3 separate regions of the Homo sapiens genome follow, and regions 1 and 2 are each linked to region 3. Evidence: promoter capture Hi-C in human tissues and cell types (Jung and others, 2019). All regions are on one chromosome and are shown on one strand. Each heading gives the region's core, a stretch centred on a gene start or on the middle of the fragment in contact. The rest is flanking DNA. Distances are from core to core; before and after follow the strand shown. Region 1 has its middle 60 kb from the start of NKX3-1. Region 2 overlaps LOC107986930 (a long non-coding RNA gene). Region 3 holds the start of NKX3-1 (NK3 homeobox 1).

Evidence for each region. Contacts are between HindIII fragments. The study calls those that stand out against the background at their distance.
Region 1: a fragment that was not itself captured here is called in contact with the fragment with the promoter of NKX3-1 in region 3 in 1 of the 25 tissues and cell types used here (mesenchymal stem cells).
Region 2: a fragment that was not itself captured here is called in contact with the fragment with the promoter of NKX3-1 in region 3 in 1 of the 25 tissues and cell types used here (mesenchymal stem cells).

Annotation. Positions count from the first base shown.
Region 1 is chr8:23,620,207-23,624,707 of GRCh38, reverse strand. No RefSeq gene overlaps it. Among named protein-coding and RNA genes, the nearest start is that of NKX3-1, 60 kb to the left of the region's middle. The HindIII fragment of the contact is 6,055 bases long and covers 82-4,501 here.
Region 2 is chr8:23,742,296-23,747,003 of GRCh38, reverse strand. The region is part of intron 3 of LOC107986930 (a long non-coding RNA gene); the gene reads right to left. Among named protein-coding and RNA genes, the nearest start is that of NKX2-6, 38 kb to the right of the region's middle. The HindIII fragment of the contact is 5,091 bases long and covers 1-4,301 here.
Region 3 is chr8:23,680,898-23,685,327 of GRCh38, reverse strand. NKX3-1 (NK3 homeobox 1) reads left to right here and starts at 2,390. Exons shown (of 2, transcript NM_006167.4): 1 at 2,390-2,724; 2 at 3,689-4,430. The coding sequence starts at 2,439. The coding sequence ends at 4,107. The region is part of intron 3 of LOC107986930 (a long non-coding RNA gene); the gene reads right to left. RefSeq lists silencers at 2,209-2,718, 2,759-2,808. The HindIII fragment of the contact is 20,085 bases long and covers 1-4,430 here.

The DNA of each region.
Region 1 (4,501 bases), core at 1,860-4,359, 61 kb after region 3:
AATGCCTTGATGGGCTTGGCTGAGTTGTGCTGTGAAGGAAGGAGAGTAGCAGAACATCTCAGAAGGATCAGAAGCAAGGCTGTCTTCGCAGTAGTCCAGGAGACATCTGTCTACCTGGTGAGGACTGCCATGTGCAGACGGGCAACTTGTGCACTGCTCAAAGGCACTGTCCGAAGAAATGCAGGGGCTGAAATACATCCTGCACATCACTAGTAAAACTGCACAGGAAAAGAATTCCTTTTACAAAGGCAACCACAGGGCTGCATCTACCCAGAGGGAGACACTTTTTCTAATTCAGGCAAAGGTGTTAGGTAGGTTACTGGCAGCTCGGGATCTTATTATAAATGTAGACCCCCAAGGCCTACCCCAGAACTGCTGAATCAGGATCTTCCCATTAGCAATATCCCTGGTACCTTGTATGCCCATTACAATTTGAGAAACACTGGCCTAAAACACAGGAAAACACATTTCTTTGCAGAAGGGGAAACAGATCCAGAAGACAGCACTTTGCTTAGAGAAGAGGTTCAGGTTGCTTAGAGAAGAGGTACAGGCCTCCCAAGTTCCAAGCTTCAACTTTTATTCCACGCTAATAACCTTTCATTACCCTTGGTCTATTTTATCATGGTAGCACATGGACACATGGCCTGAATCCCTCATTGCTTTTAGAGTCCTGAGGCTCCTGGAATCCTCAAGACTCGTGACATATATTTTCAAGACCCCCTAGTTCACTTGTGAATGATGATCGTTGGATTACAGCTGAACTAGGGCAGTGGAGGTTCCCCTGCCCCTGCTCAGAGCTCCAGTCCTTAGATTCTGGCTAAACTTCAGGTCTAGGAGTGTTAGAGAAGACTGGTGTGTGTATGTGTGTGCGTGTGGGCAAGTGTGTGTGTGTGTGTCACAGAGAGCACACAGGCATGAGGAGAGGGTGGGTATGTAGAGCAGATAGAAATATCTTGCATGCAAACCTTGCTCTTCTTCTGCGTGGCTTTTCGTGTGGGGTTTTTGCATTCTTCTAAGAGCCTAAACCACCAGCTTAGCTTGTCACACACTCGAAGAATCTGTCCCCATATTTTCTTTGCATTCCTCATTTATGCAAACAGATTGAATGTCTAAACTTGGAGTGCCTTTCAACCTAAGTTGTTCCCTGATTGTTGATATGATCTCTCTTACTCTCCCCCCTTCTCCTCTCTCAATTTAATTGTGAAACCACCTCCCTAGTCCCTGCTAGATGGTACTTAGCCTATAGGAATAGAGAGAAAGTCTGGAAGCAAAAGTATCGAGGAGAGAATTCACAGTATAAAAGCCTGGTTACAATACATCCATTTGGAGTAGCAAGCATCACCTCACATTGTAACTAGCAGCTTATCATGGTCAGAGAAAAGTTGCTAAGTTTTTCTCCTTAGGACTATCTATGTCTTTTATTCTGTGTGCCAGCTTTCTCTCTCTCTCTCTGTCTCTCCCTCTCTCTCTGTCTGCTCTTCCTCCTCCTCTTCCTCCTCCTCCTCTCCCTCCCTATCTCATTTTCCCTTTCCATCGCTCTCCTCACCCTCCCACCAAGGAGGACCTCTTTTATCTTCTCCAAGCTAATTATGATTTTCCAAGTTCTCCTTCATGAGTCCCAGTAAAGACAGAAAGAAGTGGAAAGAGGTGTTCACAGCGTGAGAGCTTCTTCTCAAACAGGGGCTCCTTCCTCTGCCACCTTCCTGCTCAAAGCAGTCTGCCTCCTATCCCCGCGCGGCTCCCTGGGGCTAGGGACCCTCCAATGCTTGTGCACAAAGAGGCGGCGCAGTCTTTCCAGCTAACACAGCTCTAGTCAGCTGACCCTTAGTCAGATGCCACTAACTTCTGTCCCCGCTCACACTCACCCTTTCTCCTCTCCTCCCCAATTCTAGCCTTTTTTCAGGTAGGTGGAAGGATATTGAAGGAGTTTCCACTGGATACTTTTTATAAAAAAAAAAAAAAAAAAAGGAGGAGAAACAGCCATCTCAGACTGCGGGAATAGGTCATGGGGTCAGAAATTTAAGAAAAGTCAAAGTTTTTCATTGCTATGCTGGAGGAAAAAAGCAAGGCCTGATTGAGGAAACAGGAAGGCTGTGTGGTTTTGCAACTTTCTTCCAGTTCCACTCACAGAAAAGACAGACTTTAGATTCATCCATTATCCCCTCCCTCCTCTCACTCATTGCAGGTGCCTTGCCTTGAGAGTAAGGAGTTTTATTTTGCTTTGTTTTGTTTTGTTTTCCCAGAAGGACTCTTGGTTCATTACAAATCAAATTACAGAGAATGAGAATAAGAAGGAGAAGTTTTTCAATACAAGGTGCTGAGACTAGCCCAAGCCCACTGTCTCAGCATTTTGGCATGTCACTTCGCCTCTCTGGATCTTAATTCCCTTTGACATTTAGGATAATACCATCAATCCAATCTACCACGTGGGAAGGTTGAAAGAAACATGCCAGATAATGTATGTGAAATAATTTTTAAAAGTATAAAGTTGCTCTAAGAGTAGAAGGTGCTATTGATATCAAATCACTGTTTTAAGTGCTTTGTGAGAAATAAGTTTGAGTAAGAATTCTTTACCAAAGAGTTACAATACAATTAGGGAGGCAAGACATAGAGCAGATGGCACAGTGCAGAACAGATGATAGTATCAGGTGGCCTATGGTAAGGGTCAGGATGGTGGTGCAGGTGCAAGTTGGTGGCTAGAGACCTGCCAACTACACAAATGCAGAGTGAAGAGTGATATTAAAGGGACGGGAGCTGTTTCAGGTTGCATATGACTCCCAAAAAGGTATGTTAGAGACTCAACCCCCAGTACCTCAGAAGGCAACCTTATTTGGAAAATAGGGTCCTGCAGATGTAGTTAAGATAAAACCCTACTGGATTTGGGTAGGTGTTTAATCCAATGTGACTGCTGTCCTTACCAGAAGGGGAAAGAGAGAGACAAGGAAGAGAATGCCAAGCGAAGACATACGTGCAGAGAATGACATAGGATAAAGGGAAGAGAGACTTAAACTGTGCACCTGCAAACCAAGAAAGGTAACGGGTGGCCAGCAAATCACCAGAAGCTAGGAAAAGCCTGCAGGGATCCTCCAATACAGTGTTTGTTGGTTGGTTTTTTGTTTTTTGCTTTGAAATGGAGTCTCACTCTGTTGCCCAGACTGGAGGGCAGTGGCATGATCTCGGCTCACTGCAACCTCCACCTCCCAGGTTCAAGCGATTCTCCTGCCTTAGCCTCCTGATTAGCTGGGACTACAGGCACATGCCACCATGCGCAGCTAATTTTTGTATTTTTAGTAGAGGTTTTACCATGTTGGCCAGGCTGATCTCAAACTCCTGACCTCAAGTGATCCGCCCACCTCAGCCTCCCAAAGTGCTGGGATTGTAGGCGTGAGCCACCAGGCCCAGACTCTCACATAGGTTTTAGAGGGAGTGTGGATGGCCCTGTGGACACCTTGATTTCAGACTCCTGGCCTCCAGAATGGCAATAGAATACCTTTCTGTCGTTTTTAGCCACCCAGTTTGTAATACTTTGTTATAGCAACCACAGGAAACTAATATAAAAGTTGAGCAGGGTCTTGTAAGCTATGCCATAGTCCCATAGGCACAGCTGGGGAGAGGCAATTATGCATGTCCTGTTATATCACAGTGAGGGATGAACTTCACCAGTCAAGTGAATCATTTCTCAATATGCTAGAATATATTGGAATAATATCTGTGTTCCCTCTGTCTAAAATCAGCAATTTCTACTTTACTATATAGTAACCGGTATTATCATAGCTTTGTTGCTTAATATATTTGGTTTGGCTGCACAAACTCTTTTTTAATTACTTCTCCTTGCCTATTATCGGTTTATTGCCCATGAAGAATCATGCTGACCCTGTTCTTATTTTTTTTTAAATCAATGTTTGGCTTTCACGTTTATTGATATTCAGATCTTAGTGGTCCGTACCCATGTCCTAATAATTTTTGACAAGGAGTTCTGAGGAGAGCATTCTGAAATGACCTCAGAAGCAACTCCTAAAGCACTGTGAGCCCTGTTTGATACTCCATAGATTCTGCTTCAAGGAAATCCTGTTCCCTGAAGAAGTTGTTATGGTCTATTGGACCAGTATCATACCTTGAGAAAGATCTAAGAGCCGTATTTACACATATAGCTGTCATAGATCCAAAGTAGCCATTAAAGATGATTAGGTAAATAGAACAATTTCAAATGTCCCTAAATACATATTTGCAGGATAATAGCCTATTGGATGAGGTGTTTCTCTTTTAATAGGCCCAGCTTTTAAAAATGAAACTCTGGTTGGGTTACAAGCCCGCTAGATAGCACTGCCCCATCTCTATGTATTGCCAATTAATATATCATGGTTGTATCTGATAATGTCTTAGCAATCTTTGGGCCCTGTAATAATGATGGGGAGTATGTAACATTTGTTCAATGCAGGGCTCAGGACACAAATCAGTATTCTAGTTTTAGAGCAGAGGCTTCTACGTGGGTGCCCCCACA
Region 2 (4,708 bases), core at 507-3,006, 62 kb before region 3:
CTCTGTGTTGCCTCATGTTTTACAAAAGATATAAAAAGTAATTCATATTTAAATCTCTGTTACACTCCTTATGGACAAAATCAGAGAAGCAAATAGACTCCAAGTTGCACAGTGGTGCTGGGATTACTTCTGTTAAAAATTGCAAGGCAGGGGCCGGGTGTGGTGGCTCACGCCTGTAATCCCAGCATTTTGGGAGGCGGAGGTGGGAGGATCACCTGTAGTTGGGAGTTTGAGACCAGCCTGACCAACATGGTGAAATGCCATCTCTACTAAAAATACAAAATTAGCCGGGTGTGGTGGCGCATGCCTGTAATCTCAGCTACTCGGGAGGCTGAGGCAGGAGAATCGCTTGAACCCGGGAGGCAGAGGTTGTGGTGAGCCAAGACTGCACCATTGCACTCCAACCTGGGCAACAAGAGTAAAAAAGAAAGAAAGAAAGGAAGAAAGAAAGAAAGAGAGAGAAAGAAAGAAAGAAAAAAACCAAGAAAGAAAAAGAAAGAAAGAAAAAGAAAGAAAGAGAGAGAGAGAGAGAGAGAGAGAGAGAGAGAGAAAGAAAGAAAGAAAGAAAGAAAGAAAGAAAGAAAGAAAGAAGAAAGAAAGAAAGAAAGGAAAGAAAGAAGGGAGGGAGGGAGGGAAGGAAGGAAGGAAAAGAAAAGAAAAGAAAGAAAGAGAAAGAAAGGAGGGAGGCAGGGAAGGAGGGAGGGAAGGAAGGAAGGGAAAGAAAGAGAGAGAAAGAAAGAAAAGAGAGAGAGAGAACGACGGAGGGAGGGAGGAAGAGAGAGAGAGAGAAAGAAAGAGAGAAAGAGAGATTGCAAGGCAGACATGGATTTCATGCTACTTTCAGGGTCCAGCCCTTTCGGTTTCTTCCAAGCTCCTATATTCTCATTGGGATAAAAAGGGTCATTTGGTTAAATTGTACCTGCTTGCCATGCCTCCCTTGAAAGGGACCCTTCAAGGGACTCCCTTGAAGGAGACCCGGTTACCCAGGCCAGAGACCTTCAAACCTGGGGGTTGCGTCAGAACTGCCCCAAGCGCCACCCACATGTAATTGAATGGAATGGGTTTGCGATGGGGACCAGGAATCTGTTTTTTTGTTGTTGTTTTTTGACACGGAGTCTTGCTGTATCACCCAGGCTGGAGTGCAGTGGCACAATCTCGGCTCACTGCAACCTCCGCCTCCAGAGTTCAACCCTTGAAAGCTGAGTTTTTGCTAGATCAGGCAGTTGCCAGGTCAGGCAGTAACCAGGTGCTAGGCTCTTGTGAGTTTCCAATTTGAGACTAAAAAAAAAACCTGATGTGTTATCAGTGGGGATAGAAGGCCCCTTGTTTAAAAGTCTTTGGGAGATTTTCTTTCTGGGAAGAAATTTCCATTTCTCTGGAAATGATACCACAAGCTTAAGGGCAAGCAGGTAAGTAACCAAAAAAGGCAGGTCCAGGACCTTGGTTCAATTTGCACCCAAGAAGGCAGACAAGGGATTCACAACATTGAGAATTCAAACTCCTCAGTGCCCTCCCTCTGAATCCCCAACACTAGAGGCAACAAAAGCAAAAGTTGAATATACAATTTGGAAAAAAAAAATCTTGAAGGAGTTTTTAAGAGATATTTTTCCACATCTAAGCAGATTAAAAGTTGCATAGAAATGAAAGATGGCATTGGATTTTGCAATATCAAAGTTTGAGTGGTATGTGGCAGGAAGCCTCCCAGGCAGTAGAAGCTGGCTTGATCTCTTTCTAAAGGTCTAGACTGGAGGTTTTCCTGGAGAAAACCACAACCGTTTTCTCCACTTTTCGGCTACTGGAGCTGCCAGTACTTCCTTGTGTTTGACTCAACCCCACATCGTTCAATCCCACAGCTATGATATGACTTCAGCTTACTAACTGAAATCTAAATTCCAGTTCTTCTATGTCACTGAGCAACAAAAGAAGAAAATTGTAAAATACAGTACACAAGAAATGGAGAAAATGTAAATGACACCTTAATTGTTATCATCATTTGCTTTAAAAAGTTAATTTTAAACATTTCTCTTGCATATTAATTTTTGAAAGAGAAGACTATCTATTCAACTAGAAATAGATGCCTGCCACTGCAACAAAAGAATAATATGAGAAACCAAAGTTCAAAAGTTGAAGATGCAATAAGAAGGGAGTAATAAATTGGCCTCCCTAGGCCAGGTAGAGAGTAGGGGGTGGGACAAAGGTGACCAAACAGTTTACTAAATGAGAGGCACCACTTCCCTCCCAGAAGAGTAAAGAACAGTGATTCTCAGCCAGGTGGGCCAGGCACTTGTCATGCTATTCATGGTTAGGAGACTGTTATGCCGACTGACCTGTCTAAATTACGCTCAAAGGAGGATGAGGGGAGAACCAGTGTTGTTTAATTAACTGAATCTTGGAAAGCAGGATGTCTCCTAACCAGCAAAAGACCTAACAGGGTCATCAGTGTCTCCACTGGCTAGGCTTACCATTTTTTGTCAAGCAGCCATATAAACTCCTTCCCCTCCAAAAAAAAAGTGTCTGTCTGGATGACAAAGTGTCAAGATACTTGATAATCTGCAGACAGAAGGTATTTCATGAGCAGAACAAACACAATACCTGGATATTTTTTTATTCAAAATGAATTCATCTGAAAGTAAAATAACCCATTCCACTGAGTTCTCCAAAGCATCTACACATCGCTGAAAGCAGCGTGGCTTTCCTCATTAATATCATAAGAAGTTTTTAAGGTACGAGATGGCACAGTGGTGGTCTAGGGACATGCTTAGAAATCTCATGCTTGGAGGAGCCGGGGATCCTGCACACACACACTTTCCAAGACCTGAAAACAAAGGCCTCAGGGTAGACCACACTGCAGTTCAGGGTGTTTTGAGTACTGAAGAGTGAGTAGGGAAAGGCACCAATGTGAAACCTCATAGATTTGTAGGACTGTTGAGGTGGGAGTTGGGGGAAGAGAGGAGAGGAGAGCAGGAAAGGAGAAAATCTGTCCCAGAGCCAGTCCTCAGCGCATAAATAATAGCAGCCAGTATTTCGCCCACCTCACATAGTCATCAAGACCCCATGACTACTGTCCCATCACCGTAAGGAACACCATGTGATTTTCATTAATTGTTTGAACCGGTCAACTGATTATTCTCTTTAAAAAAATCATAACATCTCTGGTCTTTCACTTTCAATCTGGAGCTTTGTAAAGTAGCTATTTGTCTGGGATGACAGAAGTTGTCAGCAGGTATTCTGCCCGTTTCCAGGTAAGGCTGAACACCAGGATTTTGTTCATCCAGTTTCCTCTCAATGGGTCATCCCGACCTGTAAATGTGGACTTGGGGAATGTTACCTGCAGGCCAGCTTAAGATCATTCCAGAAGAATTTGAATACTGAGCTCATTCTTCCACTTTTTTAAAAGAAACAGACATCAGGATATGATTTTATTCAAATCTTTGCCTTTCTATCTACTTCCTGTCACTGAGACTCAATTTCTTCCTTTTCAAATGGAAATTCAACTGTCACCCTATTTGATAGTCTCTTTTACATCCCACTACTTTTAAAAAGTTAAAAACTTAAGGTCTTTTTAAAATATAAACTACAGGATTTTGAAAAGGTCCAGGGTTATGAACAATGAAACATTCTGGAAATTTTAGGATTCTGGATTTTTGAAACAATAGAGGGGAGAGTTTCCATAGTCTTCAGTCTTAGACCCTAGTTCTGTTGGCCTTCTTGAGAAAGCTGCAGCTCTGATGCTTATCAAAGCTTCCTAGGAAACTTAGGGCCATTGCAGATAACTCTCAGCCAGTTGGGCCTGGCACCTATCAACCATCTGAACCAGGGCATTCTCCTTCTTATTAGCAAGGTCGTCACTGACTGCTCAACACCATGAACAGAAAAGGAACAGGTTTGGGGTGTGACTCTATCTAGCCACCAGCACAGAATCGCCTGCTCCAGCCAGGCCCAGGCTGCCTCCACCTATGGAAGGAGAGAGGAACCTGCAGCTTGAGGAAGTTCAGAGAAAACCCAGCCCTTGTAGGTACAGAGGCAGAGGTTATACCACATGCATGGAAGGCTCTGGGCTTCTTTAGCAACTTTTTTTTTTTTTTGAGACGGGGTCTCACTTTGTCACCCAGGCAAGAGTGCAGTGGCACAATCACGACTCACTACAGCCTCTGCGTCCCGGGCACAGGTGATCATCCACCTCAGCCTTGCAAGTAGCTCAGACCAAAGGTGTGCACCGCCATGCCCAGCTATTTTTTAAATGTTTTGTAGAGGCAGAGGTCTCACTATATTGCTGAGGCAGGTCTCAAACTCCTGGCCTCAAGCCATCCTCCTGCCTCAGCCTCCCAAAGTGCTGGGATTACAGGTATGAGCCACCATACCCAGCCTTTAACAACTCTCAATAACGATTTATCATTTTCACCACTAGAGGTCTTATACATACTTTTAAAGATTTATTCTTATGTACTTCATTTCTTGGACTTATTATAGATGGTATATATTTACTTAATTTCTGTTTGTTATTAATAATATAAATGTAATTGGCTTTTTTTTACCTTGGCTTTATGGCCAGCACTCTTGGTAAGCTCTTATCAGTTCTAATTATTTATCTGTAGGATCATTTGAATTTTTCATGTACACAGCCATATAATCTGTGAATGATGACTATTGTGTTTCTTCTTTCCAGTCCTTGTATTTTGTGTGTCTTGTCCGTGCATTCCTACACTGG
Region 3 (4,430 bases), core at 1,141-3,640:
TTAGGACTAAACAAAGAGTTCTTAGGCAGGACATCAAAATCACATTCTGTAAAATTCAAAAATTCATAAATTGATCTTCAATGAAATTAAAATCTTTTGTTCTGTTGAAGATCCTGTTAGAGGGATGGAAACACAAGCTACAGACTGGGAGATAATATTTGCAAATAACCTACCAAACAAAGACTTACAAACAGCAATATATAAAGAACTATCATAACTCAATGGTTAAAAAATAAAAGAAAGAAAAATTCAATTATAATATGAGCAAAAGGCTTGAACAGATATTTCACCAAAGAGGAAATATGGATGGCAAACAAGCACATGACAAGGTATTCAACATCTCTAGGCATTTGTGAAATGCAAATTAAAAATTTAAACCACAATAAGGCCCAGCACAGTGGCTCACACCTGTAGTCTCAGCACTTTGGGTGGTGGAGGCGGAAGGATTGTTTGAGCCCAGGGCTTTGAGACCAGCCTGGGCAACAGGGTGAAACCTTATCTTTACAAAAACTACAAAAATTAACTGGGCAGGGTGGCACACACCTGTAGTCCCAGCTATTCAGGAGGCTGAGGTGGGAGAATCTCCTGAGCCCAGGAGGTTGAAGTTGCAGTGAGCCATGATCTCTCCACTGCACTCCAGCCTGGGCAACAGAGCAAGACCCTATCTCTAAATAAATAAATAAATGACGTCTGTAGTCTAGTTAACTGTAATGTCCCAACGTAAATTTCCTGTTTTCTACATTGTCCTACAGTTGTATAGATGTCTTTGGAGGACACTGGAGGTATTATTTTTGCAACTTCCTGTGAATCTACAATGATTCAAAAGAAAACATTAAAGAATGTTCTAATATAAAGAGACTTTGAAAAGATGAGAGAAGAAAACCAGCTTTGCCAAAGTCTTTCCCGTTGCACAGGTAGTTTTCTTTGGCGGTCGCTTTATCAGCAATAACCTATTAACTTTCCTTCCTCCAGAGACACATGACATACCATCCTTTTGAAAAGTTGCCAGTTGAATAGAAGCCGTCTTAGACCAGGACAGACAAAAAAGTTGCATTAAAAAAATGGTTCTAAAAAACATCAGCCTACCCTTTTTCCAGATTACCAACTGTTACCATTTAACCCATCGGCTTTATGGCGTGGGATCTATCAATCTGCATCCTTGTTTCAGAACCATTTGATGTAAGTTTCATAAATCTTGTGCCTTTGCTCCTACTTACTTCAGTGTTTATTTCCTAAAAATATTCTCTTGTACACTGACAGTACAATGTGCAATTTCAGTAAATTTAACATTAATTCAATACTTCCATCATCGACCTGACACTGAGACTCATGCCTGTAGTCCTGGCACTTTGAGAGGCCAAGGCAGGAGGATCACTTGAATCCAGGAAATCGAGGCTGCAGTGAGTTATGATGGCATCACTGCACTCCAGCCTGGGCGGCAGAGGGAGACCCTGTCCGTAAAAAAAAGAAGAGAAAAGACAAGGAAAGAAAATACTTCCATCATCTCTGTTCCACTTTCGTCTGTTGTCACGGTACCGTCCAGTCCAGTCACAGTACCGGTTGGACCAATCTGGCTAACCCATTGTTTAGCCAATGGGTTACATGTTAACAGTTGGTAATCTGCAAAAAGAGTATGCTGATGTTCTTTTGAACTACTTTTTTAAATGCAGTTTTTGCATTTGTCCTGGCCTAAAACGCCTTCCATCCGTCTGGAAACTTTTCAAAAGGATGGTATGTCATGTGTCTGGGGAGGAAGGAAAGTTAACAGGTTATTGCGGATAAAGGAACCACCAAAGAAAACCACTTCTGCAACGGGAAAAGGCTTTGGCAAAGGTGTTTTCCTTCTTTCAGCCTGGGGTCTGGCTGCACCTACTTGTCATGCCTCTTTGAGGTCGTAGATATTGCAGATCTGAGTTTGCACCATCTCTCCCAGAGAGAGAGAGCACCCAGAACTCTCACGGTACCGCGCGGCTGCAGTGACTGCGTGCTCATCCCCTGTAATTGGCTCTGACGGTCCTGAAGAGCTAACTGGACTGTTTGTCTTGATCGTCCCATCCCCAGGAGCTTCTCTCTGTTGCGGGTGGGTTGGGGCAGAGGAGCCCCGCTTTGGGGTGCGCTCCTGGCCTGGGAAAACGGCTCAGGGCGGAGGGAGGAGAGCTGGAGAAGGAGAGGAAATTGGGGAAGGAGAGGGAATTGGGGAAGGAGAGGGAACTGGGGAAGGAATCCCCTAGGGAGGAGCGGAGCGGGGCAGTGCTCAGGGCTCGCAGATCGGCGGGGTCACCTGGGGCTCAGGGCGGCCAATCCGCGGCGCGGCCCGTCCCGCGGCCAATGGGAGGGCGGCGCGGCCCGCTCCCCTGGGCTATAAGCGAGCCGGGAGGCGGAAAGTGAAAGCGGTGCGGGCCGGGCGGGTGCATTCAGGCCAAGGCGGGGCCGCCGGGATGCTCAGGGTTCCGGAGCCGCGGCCCGGGGAGGCGAAAGCGGAGGGGGCCGCGCCGCCGACCCCGTCCAAGCCGCTCACGTCCTTCCTCATCCAGGACATCCTGCGGGACGGCGCGCAGCGGCAAGGCGGCCGCACGAGCAGCCAGAGACAGCGCGACCCGGAGCCGGAGCCAGAGCCAGAGCCAGAGGGAGGACGCAGCCGCGCCGGGGCGCAGAACGACCAGCTGAGCACCGGGCCCCGCGCCGCGCCGGAGGAGGCCGAGACGCTGGCAGAGACCGAGCCAGGTAAGCGGCGAGGCCGGGGAAGGGGGGCAGCCCAAGGCGGACCCCCAGAGCTCGGGGTGCAGGGACGCGGGGCTCCGCGGCGACAGGCAGAGGGACCTTCCCGCCTCCGCAGCCACGCGCGCGCCCCCGGAATGAACCCTGAGCCCCAGCGTCAGGGCGGCGCAGGATTCTGACACCGCAGGACTCGCCCGGCTCCGTGCCCTCCGCTCCCTGGGGCTCAGAAGCCGGCGCGACTGCAGCGCCACCGCCCTCCACCGTCCCAGGAGCGGATCCCGCCCCGCGCCACCCGCGATCGGCGCCAGCCCCCCGGTAGTTATGAGAACTAATAATAACTTATTAACAGTGACAAAGCAGGGGTTGACCAGCAAAGCCTCCGTGTGCTTCCCAATCCCGTGGGCAGTAAAGCGGTATATTCGGGGTTCCCTCCGGTGTCCAGGAGAGAGAGTCCACTTATTTTCTTTCCTGTCACTTCTGATGAGGCGACCGAACGCCTCGTTTAGCGAAGAGGGAATTAAAGCCCAGAATGAGCCTGCCTCTGCGTCTCCAGTGGCACAAGCCCTCTCTTGCCCACCTGGATCCTAACACCGGATGTCTTTTGGTCTGGCCTTCCCGGGTATCTTGTTCCACGGCATTTTCCCTGCCTCCCTCTCCCGCCTCTCCTCAGCACACAGATCCAGAATCCCCATATAATTCTACTAGACAGTAGGGAGAAAGTTCAACCACGAAACGTCTCTAACTTTGGGTTCTTGATGATTCTTAGCAAATGAATGCGTAATAAACATATTTACTCACTCTTCACTCCGGAGAGCTCCTTAGTCATGTGAAAAAAGTGAAATGTATCCACGATGACAGTGGGCTGTTTGTTCACTCACTAAAGAGATAAGGGTGGATTGAATTCTGTTCTCTTCCCTGCTAACATGTAACTTTTGTCTTCCCATCCCTCCTTCCCCACTCTCCTTTCCAGAAAGGCACTTGGGGTCTTATCTGTTGGACTCTGAAAACACTTCAGGCGCCCTTCCAAGGCTTCCCCAAACCCCTAAGCAGCCGCAGAAGCGCTCCCGAGCTGCCTTCTCCCACACTCAGGTGATCGAGTTGGAGAGGAAGTTCAGCCATCAGAAGTACCTGTCGGCCCCTGAACGGGCCCACCTGGCCAAGAACCTCAAGCTCACGGAGACCCAAGTGAAGATATGGTTCCAGAACAGACGCTATAAGACTAAGCGAAAGCAGCTCTCCTCGGAGCTGGGAGACTTGGAGAAGCACTCCTCTTTGCCGGCCCTGAAAGAGGAGGCCTTCTCCCGGGCCTCCCTGGTCTCCGTGTATAACAGCTATCCTTACTACCCATACCTGTACTGCGTGGGCAGCTGGAGCCCAGCTTTTTGGTAATGCCAGCTCAGGTGACAACCATTATGATCAAAAACTGCCTTCCCCAGGGTGTCTCTATGAAAAGCACAAGGGGCCAAGGTCAGGGAGCAAGAGGTGTGCACACCAAAGCTATTGGAGATTTGCGTGGAAATCTCAGATTCTTCACTGGTGAGACAATGAAACAACAGAGACAGTGAAAGTTTTAATACCTAAGTCATTCCTCCAGTGCATACTGTAGGTCATTTTTTTTGCTTCTGGCTACCTGTTTGAAGGGGAGAGAGGGAAAATCAAGTGGTATTTTCCAGCACTTTGTATGATTTTGGATGAGTTGTACACCCAAGGAT